Linked DNA regions of Homo sapiens: region 2 is linked to region 1. Evidence: promoter capture Hi-C in 16 types of primary human blood cells and fetal thymus (Javierre and others, 2016). All regions are on one chromosome and are shown on one strand. Each heading gives the region's core, a stretch centred on a gene start or on the middle of the fragment in contact. The rest is flanking DNA. Distances are from core to core; before and after follow the strand shown. Region 1 holds the start of CGRRF1 (cell growth regulator with ring finger domain 1). Region 2 overlaps SAMD4A (sterile alpha motif domain containing 4A).

Region 1 (4,744 bases), core at 1,100-3,599:
CATGGCAAACAGTGGAAAGAAGCAAATAGTGAAAAACTCAGAGAAGTACCAAGGGAAAAACCATGACAGAAAACACATGAACAGTAGAGATGGTATTATGGGAGGTTAAAACAAAACAAAACAATGACAAGGGTGAAAAACATGCGTATTAACTAGTTTACCCTTCTGACTGGGGTACTATTGGTACTATTAGAAAGATGTTTTTATGCGATTTAGATGGTGTCCAAGTTTTCATCATTTCTAGTCAATAAATACATGGCCTTGGCTTAAGTTTGCAAATAAACATAGTAAAAAGTTTATCTACGTGGGCAAAACTAACTCGGATGGAGAGAATGGTTGGGTTAGGCACAAGATGACTGGTTAGGCCTAAATTAGGATGGAAGTGACTGGATTTACATGGTCTTGTGGCCTCAGCAGTGCTTAGCCCAGACTTCCAAACGTTCTATAATTACATGGGCTTCCACTCTTGTAAAAAGTCTTACCTAAATGGGGTGATTTGGCAATTATTAAATTTTCAAACCAAGTCTTAAAGCTGGCAGAGCCAGGATTTGAACCTATGTCTGACTGACTCCAAAGTCTGTCTGTTAACCACTACAAACATGAGGCTCCTGACTACCCTCTTCCCAATACTAAAGATTGATATCTAAGATATCTAATTAGTTGGCCTATTTAAAATAAAAATTAAAGCACATAAGGCAATTATCAACTAGTTACTATTTTCCTTAGTGGAGGAAAATTATGCTTCATTAAGAGAATAACACTAACATTATAGTCATTTAAAAATCTTGTGTTAAGACTGCTTTTCTCACATGGGCAACACCTTCCTCATTCCAATTACAAACTTTTGTGTAATGAACATTAGCAATAAAATCTGATGGGTCAAGAATAACCAATTGTGTAAGATTGGTCTTTGTTTTCCAATCTTACCCCCACAAATAAGGAATTTGTATTTCCAATCCTCACCCACATACAAGGCAAGGAATTCTATGCTCTATTGCTGGTAGGGTGAGGAGCAGTGTGGACAGGTTAAAACTTTTGTCACTTCCTAAAGATGGCATATATTTTCAGAAACCGACAAGGGCCCGTGTTCTTTAAGGCAATCACATATATGTGACCAAAGGCTATTTTAAAACTCGTTTTACGTAGCCTTCTTTATTCACTAACATGTTCTCTGCCCCTATGCTCATGCTGTCTTCTCTGAGATGCTTTTTCTTCCCTACTATATACATTTAACTCCATTTATTTTTCAAAATGCTCATTCTCCAAAATCCAGCTCATGTCCCTCTTCAACAGAGTCCCCTCTGACCTCTTCAGACCATGGCTGTTATCCACTTAGAACTGCTGTTTGATCTTTTTGTAACTATTATCATCTCAAAGGGATTTTGGAGGCTGCAGCCTAGAAAAACTGTTGTGGGCTAGTTACACGGTTTCAACTCGTTATTTACAAGGCTTGTCTAAACATGATACAATAGCATCTCCTCAAGAGAGAAATTGAACCTCTAGGCTAGAAGAATTGCTCAGCGGTTATCTAACAGACCATTCTCCTTGTCTCCAATAGGCAACTGTCCTACCCTCGGTGTTACATATTTCTAAGGTCTCTTCCAGCTCTAAAATTATGATTTTACAATTCTATCGACTAAATATTACTTCAAAAGGTGTGGAATGTATACAGAAACCATTAAATTCTCAAACGGTAACAGTTCAGTTACAAGTTACTCTGAAAGATCTGAGGCTAAGGGCTCCATTCAGGTCAGAATCACAACTGTTAACCTCGCTTACTGTCCAGTCTGTGCACTGTAGCACAGGTGACTAACTCATCCAGGACACACAGTAGGCCCGAATCCGGGACAGAAGCCTACTAGAGAAGCACTTTCTCCCAACACCAAGCCCAAGCCCAAGCCCTTCCTGGCTGCTTTATCGCCTAGAAACAAAGCTGAGTAAAACACCCCAATGCGGTACCACCCCAAGATGCCCCAGCGACACGGACCAAACGGTGATGCAGGGCAGTGACGCAGGTGCAGCGTCCACCTTGTTTTCCTCCCAGAGAAAGTCGGAGTTCTAGGCACCCGGGGACACCGAATCCCCGACGTCCTCCGGCCCGCGGCCCTCCGGCTCCGGTGCCCCCTGCTGCTCGTCGCGACCCCACTCTGGCGGTATCCGCCCCTTCGTCTCTCACCCCTGGGACACTTACCATCCCAATACCAGGCCGGTGGTCACGATGAAGCAGGTAAAGACCACCGCGATGTAGAAAAGCGGCGAGTATTCATAAAGCGTTACCAGAAACACCGCAGCCATCAGGGTCTTGCTCTGGGTAGAGCCCGGCTCCAGCCGCGGAGCCCAGCCCAGCCCGGCTGAGCCCCGCCCGCCCGGCCAGGGTAAAAGCCACTACAGTGCCCCGGAGCGGACAAACTTTGTAGGTCCGCACTTGCCTGGGGTTCTCATGAGCTAGACTTTAGGGCAGCCTCGCGGACAGCGGGAGCTGGCGTGCCAATCACGGCGCCCCCTGCCGGACACGCCACGCCCCTCCCGCTCCCGTCCCGAGCTATTGGCTACGCAGACCTGGGATGGGGGGGGCCCGACTCGCACCGCCCCCGACTCCCAGGATTGGTACCCAGCGGGCGTCTTAAGCGCTGTGGCCCAGTGGTCATTGCTGTTCCGCCGGCAAATTCTAAGTAGACTTTGGGGCCAACTCTGTGCCAGCCTTAGGCAATGTAGGTTTTCTGATGTCAGAGAGAGGCGCAGTCTGAAATCTACGTGCATCGTTTCTAAATCCTGAAACCCTGCCTATTATATCTTAGGCAAATTTGGGAGAGGGTGGAGGAGGAGGAGGAGGAGGGCGGGCATCTTGGATTCTACAAAATGAAATAACCATAAGCACAGTGAAAACACAAAAAAAGGAGTCTCTACCACAAGCAATTTATACGAGACTTGTCAGCCTTTTCAGATTGGACTTAATCATAGAGGAAAATCAGCATTGCTTATCCAAGATTCTCTTAGAAATAAAGCATCCGCTTCCTCCCACATCCCCCTCCTTTTCTCCTCTTCTTGTACTCCTCAAATTAGAATTAGCCAAACATTTGAAACTGTATTTGTTTCCACTTTAAGAATAATTTTTAAAAAACTTTTTAAATCACACAGAAGCTTTTTAAAAATTACTGAAAGTAGCTAAATGGTCACTCCCTTGTCTCAACCCTGTGAGTCAGCTCCATCAAGGTGGCCTCCCTGAAAGTCTTTCATAACAGTTCATTGACACCTCGTTGGTTTGCATTTACTCCTAAAGCCACATCTAGCCACATCAGAGAATGGGGATATGTAGTCTTATTATTCGTGAGCAGCAACACACCCTGGTACAAATCAAGAGTTTTGTTACTGAGGAGGAAAGAGAATGGACATTGGGATAGTTAACTAGTAGCCTCTGTCACACTCCTAAATCACCAGTAAAATTCGTGTTGAGAAAGATGAACTAAGTTTGTCCTATGGCCTCACATATTCCTTGGCAAATGAGCACGTAGTCTCTGGAGCAGCACTGTTTGAGAAGCTTGCTTCTACAACACAATTTTTAATTACTATATATCTGATTTGTGAAAATATATACTTTAATCAGCCCTCAACTGTTGGAGAATTTTTCATTGCTATAAATAACACTGCAATGAACATCCCTACAGCTAAAGTATTTCCTTAGGATAAATTACTAGAGGTGGAACTATGGTTTTAAAAAATGTACATTTTAAAGATTTTGTAAAAACACTGCTCTCCAGAAATGTACCAATTTGTATTCCCAGTTTTTCATCCACAGTTTTGCCATCATTTGATATTGTCACTTAACAAAAATATTGGCCAATCTGAAAGGCTCCCTTCTCCAGCAAGCCTTCCTGGATGCTTCCAAACCCTTGGGGAGATGCCTCTCCCAAAGCACCCAGTATGTAACTGTATGGGAGCCCTCTTATTTCTGGTGTGAGCACCTGCTCACTAGTGTATTTAGCCTGCTAGGAACCCAGCTCTCTGAGCACAGGAATGACACATAATTGATGTTTGTGCCACCGGTACCTAGTATATGTCGGGTAGTCATATTACTGAATTAATAAATAAATGAAATAAGCTTTTCTCCATGAGATTACTTGGAAGCACAAAGTATCTATATTAGAGTTTTTTAAAAAAAAGTTTGACTCTCAGATGAACAGGAAGAATGACTGTTCTTTATTATCTATAACTGATCTAGTTTAGCTTGAAACCCCACCCTAGACCCAGCATGGTGGCTCATGCCTGTAATGCCAGCACTTTGGAAGACCAAGGCCAGCACTTTGGGAGACCAAGGCAGGGAGATGGCTTGAGCCCAGGAATTGAGACCAGCGTCAGCGACATAGTGGGACCCTGTCTCTACAAAAAATTAAAAAATTAACTGGGCGAGGCAGAAGGATTGCTTGAGCAAGGGAGGTTGAGGCTGCAGTGAGCCACGATTGTGCCGCTACACTCCAGCCTGGGTGACACAGCAAGACGCTGTCTCAAAAAAAAAAAAAAAAAAAGCAAAGCAAGAACCTGTCTCAAAAAAGAAGAAAAAGAAAGAAGCCCCACCCTACTATTAGACGGGGTAAAAAGAGAAGACAATGTGAGCTTAAATTTATCAATAAAAAGTATCTTAGGCCGGGCATGGTGGCTCACGTCTGTAATCCCAGCACTTTGAGAGGCTGAGGTGGGCAGATAACTGAGGTCAGGAGTTTGAGACCAGCCTGGCCAACATGGCAAA
Region 2 (5,066 bases), core at 715-3,214, 270 kb before region 1:
CACCCCACTGGACCCAGTGCACCAATAACTCTCTATTCTTTCTAAAGGCAGTTCTCCGGAAGGAAATGAAAAATAACAGCCTGGAGCCCTGTGCTCCCAGATATATGCAGCGTGCTTATGGCAGAAGAATCCCAATTGTGAGCTGGTACTTAGAGGAGGTTTGCTGTGGTGATCAGGTAAGTCACACCATGAAATGCTGCCATGTGAGGTGCCACTGGACCCAGCTCACATCCAGCTGGTTCACAACCAAGGGTAGTTTGCATGTGGCTTTGGGCAAGGGAAGAATGAGATTTTCAGAAGGCTGTGCAGCCTACCCTTCTGAAGGTTTTCCTTTGAAGCCTGCTATGGGGTTCCCTGCCCTTTTCTGTTAGGCCCTCCAGGGGGTAAAGAACCTCCATGATCTCCTACTGTTGAGCCAGGGCCACTCCAAGATCCTCTCTGACTGGATCCCAAGGACAACTAAGCCTGGGTCAGTAGAAATTAGTTGCTTCCAAAATAAAGGATCCCTCTCCAAGCAATTTCCAAACCAGTTATCTAGTTGAGAAAACGCCCTGCCTCCATGAGGAACGTGACCATTCGCACAGGCGCCACACTTGTTTTCTGGTGAGCGTATTACACCTCGTAGTGTTTCTTACTCATCACTGGCAATAGCCACCTGAAGGGTCTCCTGGCTGGTCCCAGGAAACAGCTAAAACTTGTCCATGTGAAGGTGGAGGTTGCAGTGAGCTGAGATTGCGCCACTGTACTCCAGCCTGGGTGACAGAGTGAGACTCCGTCTCGAAAAAAAAAAAAAAAAAAAGCTTGTCCATGTGGGAATAACATGAAACACCACTCCTGAGGGGCCTCCAAGTGCCCGTGAATTGTGTAGAACCAGGAACGAGGGATGAGTCCTGTAAACCCGAGCAAGGTGACTGATGAATTGATCCGCAACTTGGTGGGTTCTAGCCCTCTGTCTTCTCTGTATGAGACGTTTAAAGTCTCCCATCAGTAGAGTTATTTTAGGTTTACAGAATGAAAGCATCCTTCAAATGCATTGTAGTCTTCAAGATTTGCCCAGTTTACAATGGATTCTCTGAAGACATCTAACAGCCAGGAGGAAAACACTGCATTGTATGATAACAGTTTTCCGAGTATCTACTTTTGGGTTAGTTACACATCTCAATTTCATTTTGTGTTCACTATTACTCCTGTTCATGTACAGATGAAAGCCACTTTCTGACTTCCTGATTTTTGCTGTCCTGACATGATATTTGTAGTCTAGTTTTAACGCCTGGCCACAAGCCCCGGGAAGTCTCCATAGCGAACCAGATTGCACTGCTTTGTGTGGAAAGGCCCATCTGCAGAAGAGGCTCTGAATCCAGGAAGAGCAGAAGCGGCTCTGAATCCAGGATGAGGACCCTGACTCTATGACTCTAGGATGAGCCTTCGTCTGGACCTGCTTGGAGGTCAGAGGTGTCGTCCCTGGGTAGGAGGCTGCCTCCTTGGGAGGAAGGAAAAGTCACTACAGTGACCTGTGGCCTTGACAATGATTGGCAAGGGCTGAGGAACCTCAACCCTGTGCCCTTAAGCAGGGGCCTTCTGCAGCCTCCTTCCCCTTCAGTGAGGGATCCTGGGTCCTGGCCAGGCCCTGCCCTATCATGCCCTTTATGCATGTCCTGGAAGAGCCACCCAGCATGGTGCTGAGCGTGCTGGGCAGGACTTAGGAGTGGCTCCTGTCCAGCGTTCAATGGTTTATTTGCAATCAGGAAATTTAGAGCGGGCTTTTTCCTGTGCTTTGGCTGTTATTAAAAATGCCATGTGAGGATCTTTAAGACCTTGCTGGAAGTGGGTTTGTAATACTTGAGAGATTTTAAAAAAAACACTCAAAGCGTTCCAGAGTTTTAAGTCCAGTGTGCGAAGCATATTATTTAGAGACTTGCAGGTAACTACAGACTGCTAAAAGGGGTTGTGCCTGTGGGCTAGGAAGGGGAGGGGAGAGAGACAGTCACTTTTTGCTCACAGCACTTCTGTATTATTTGATTCTTTAACCACAGGAACAAGAGGGTTTGCATGAAGAGTGAAAATGATATTAGGTTCATAGTTGCCCTGAGCACAAGCCAGCCACTTGGCATTGCTGTGAGATAGTGGAGGGGAAACAAAGGTATAGGTGGAAGATTCTATCAACAAACCCGAAGCGCTCCGGGACAACCCAGCTTTTAGAAAGGGGACTGTCTGGACCTAGTCTTCCCAGTTAAGATGGAGAAAGCTCAGGGAAGATTCAGTATGAACAAAGAGGAAGGCTGAGAACTGGCAAAAGAGTGGCAGGAAGGGAAAAAATCAAGAAGGCCTTGAGAAGGTATACAGAATTGAAGACAGTGGTCACTCTGCTGGTGAGACTGAGGCCAGGGTGAAAGACCCATTCAAGGTGACAGATCTCCTTGTGCGCAGGACCTCTTCAAATCTTGTCCAGATTCTTTTTTATTGGGAATGGATTATACATAATTCTGCGTGAAAACAGAGGATGGGATGAAAGGACCCTGGGATAAAGCCTTCAGAACCCCCAAATTTTATCATGTTTCTTCCCAGGAAGAAAAATAGCTAAGCATATAGAAATATGTGTAATTATATTGTTATATTTTGGTGCATAAATATAGAGAAAAGGAGCTTTAAAACAAAAGTGAGCAGAGTTTTGGAAGTCAAGAAGCAATGTGAGCAGGCCTCTGCACTGGGTAGCTGTCGCTCCCCTCCCTGACATGCCGTTCCCAGCAGTGTGTCCTCCAGCGTCCTCCTCCTCCCTGACCTCCCAATTCCAGCCTACCCCCCCACCCCATCATCCTGCACCCTCCTGCCTGACTTCTACTCGGAATCCCCCATGTGGAGGAATCCCCCCAGGGAGAGTGGCCAGAGTCCAAGCTCCTCAGCTTTGGATTCAAAGTCCCCCACCATCGGCCACGACCTTTACAGCTCCCTGGGTCCACTTTCTGCTACCTCAGCCAGACCCTTTGGCCCAGCCACGGCTTCCGGGCCATGCTGTGGTATTCTGGACCTTTGCAGTCTTGCTCCTGGGTTCCTTCTGCCTGTAACTCTGCCTTCCCTCTCTCCACCCTCTGCTGTGCCCTGAAGCTCAGCTCCAACTCCAGGAAGCTTCCTTGCCTATTCCAGGCCACAGTAACACTTCTCTTCTTTAAACTCCTACAGATAGGACTTACTGGACAGAGCGTTTCTACTGTCCAGGGCATTTTCCTACAGGTACAACACATCTCCAGTTTGCCTGCCTTGGGGCAGTGGGGGTGGGGGGGGGTCCATCCAGATAGGTGCAGTGTAATTGCCTGTGTGGCTTGTTATTACTCATGGAGTCTACAAAGTCTACAAGATCACTGCCTGCATAGAGAAAGGGTTCAAGTATTCATTAGCTGTGCATAATTCCAACCACTCTGTTTTAGGAAGCATAGTGAAAGCTGAAATTGATCTGAAGTGTGCTAAGTTGCTCTTTAACCAAGTAAAGGAAAGATGGCTGGTACAACAGTCATCACTTTGCAAGAAAAGCCCAAACCAGGGGGAAGGTCTCAGCATCAACAGTTTTCTCTTTCTCTGTCTCACTCTCACTTTCTCTTTCCACACACACACACACACACACACACACTACACATGGAGCCCTCCCACCTCCCCACCACCAAAGCCCTCTTGTGCTATCTCTGGTTTAATCAATCTAGAAATATGACTAGTATCAAAAATATCCCCATCCGATTGCAACCAACTCTGGGGCTCCACATGCTGGCTCTCAGCCAAGCCGCCGCTATTCATGCTGGCAAGGCACAGTTTAAAAAAGGAAAGGCTTCTATAAGCTCCAAAGAATGCACGGTGACAGTCGAGGCTAAGCACTTTCTGGCTGGGTTTGCTAGGGCATCTATTTTGGCCTCCCCTCTGTGTCAAGGGGACATGAAGCGCCGGGCCCTACCTGGCTGCTGGAACATCAGCATGTTCTGTGGGGAAGTGTGCACGGGCAGCGAGCGGGTCCTCTGGACTGAGCTGTGGGTGCGGCTTGGCATGCTATTGCTGCCCCCGGGGTTGGCAAACCACAGGTTCTGGTGAGAAAAGCAAAAGGGGAACTTGTTAGTTCAGCCCCACTGGGGTGGAGAGCAGAGCCGCCAGCAAGAATTTGGGAGGCAAAGATCCCAGGAGAACTCTAACTTCTAGAAAAGGGGCTTGCAGGCCAGTGCTAGCATCTGCTTATTTATAGAGAGAGGGTTTAGATTCCATTCACTGTAATTTCTCTTCACCTCCTCAGTGGTGGCCTTGCTGTAAGCCTCAGCTTCATCTGGACACCTCTTTCCCTATCTGCAGAACTCTTTTTATCGCATTTGTTGCTTTTGCTTTTTCCCTGCCACTTTTCTAGGAAATGGGGGAGTTCTATAAATGTATGCAACGAAGAGCACAAACTATTTCAGGGCTCTGATTTTTTTTTTTTTTTTTTTTTTTTTTTAAGATTCTTACAATGTACTCCAAAGCGAGGGGGAGAGAAAAGAAACTCTCAGCTGGCAATGAGCTGGCACAACTCAGCCTGTGTGTCCCAGCAGTGACGTCTTCTTGAACTGATCTGGGGGCTGGGGACAATGGTCAGAAGATGGGGCTTTCTGGTACCCTGGGTAGTGAATCCTGCCCGTCTTGCCTGAAGCCCTTTTCCTGTTTTTAAGCTGATCTGTCATCCCTTAGTTTCTCCTGAGACCCCAGAACCTCAGACCTACTTGTGTCCCTCTGATCCTAATCCCTACCCACAGAGCTTCGAGAAGCTCTGGGCACACAGGCGGAAGGCACTGGGCAGGGGTGGGGCCTGGGGCTAGAGGGGTATGAGCGACGGGCCAGAGAAGTCAGCTCTAAACTGCACAGCAAGAACCTCTGGGCAGGCTGAGAATGTGTTAACTCTCCCCCTGGCACACTCTCTCAGACTTTGTCCTGTGGATGCTCCACCAGAGCTGGGACTGAGACAAAGGAGCTTTTTGCCATGGATAAAAAGGGCAAGAAACTTCTCTAAATGCCAGGCTCTCCTGGAACCCAGATTTGGGTGGCAGAAGGTCAAGCATGGGGCA

Evidence for each region. Contacts are between HindIII fragments. The CHiCAGO score rates a contact against its expected background, and 5 or more counts as called.
Region 2: a contact is called between a fragment that was not itself captured here and the fragment with the promoter of CGRRF1 in region 1, in 12 of 17 cell types (M1 macrophages, M0 macrophages, naive CD4 T cells and 9 more). The highest score is 7.4, in M1 macrophages.

What each region holds. Positions count from the first base shown.
Region 1 is chr14:54,507,511-54,512,254 of GRCh38, reverse strand. It overlaps CGRRF1 (cell growth regulator with ring finger domain 1), which reads right to left and starts at 2,349. Exons shown (of 6, transcript NM_006568.3): 1 at 2,192-2,349. The coding sequence starts at 2,295. RefSeq lists an enhancer at 1,869-2,098 and silencers at 2,274-2,459, 2,259-2,688. The HindIII fragment of the contact is 20,688 bases long and covers 1-3,143 here.
Region 2 is chr14:54,775,412-54,780,477 of GRCh38, reverse strand. SAMD4A (sterile alpha motif domain containing 4A) reads right to left here. Exons shown (of 13, transcript NM_015589.6): 11 at 3,938-4,064. Among named protein-coding and RNA genes, the nearest start is that of SAMD4A-AS1, 90 kb to the right of the region's middle. The HindIII fragment of the contact is 2,323 bases long and covers 803-3,125 here.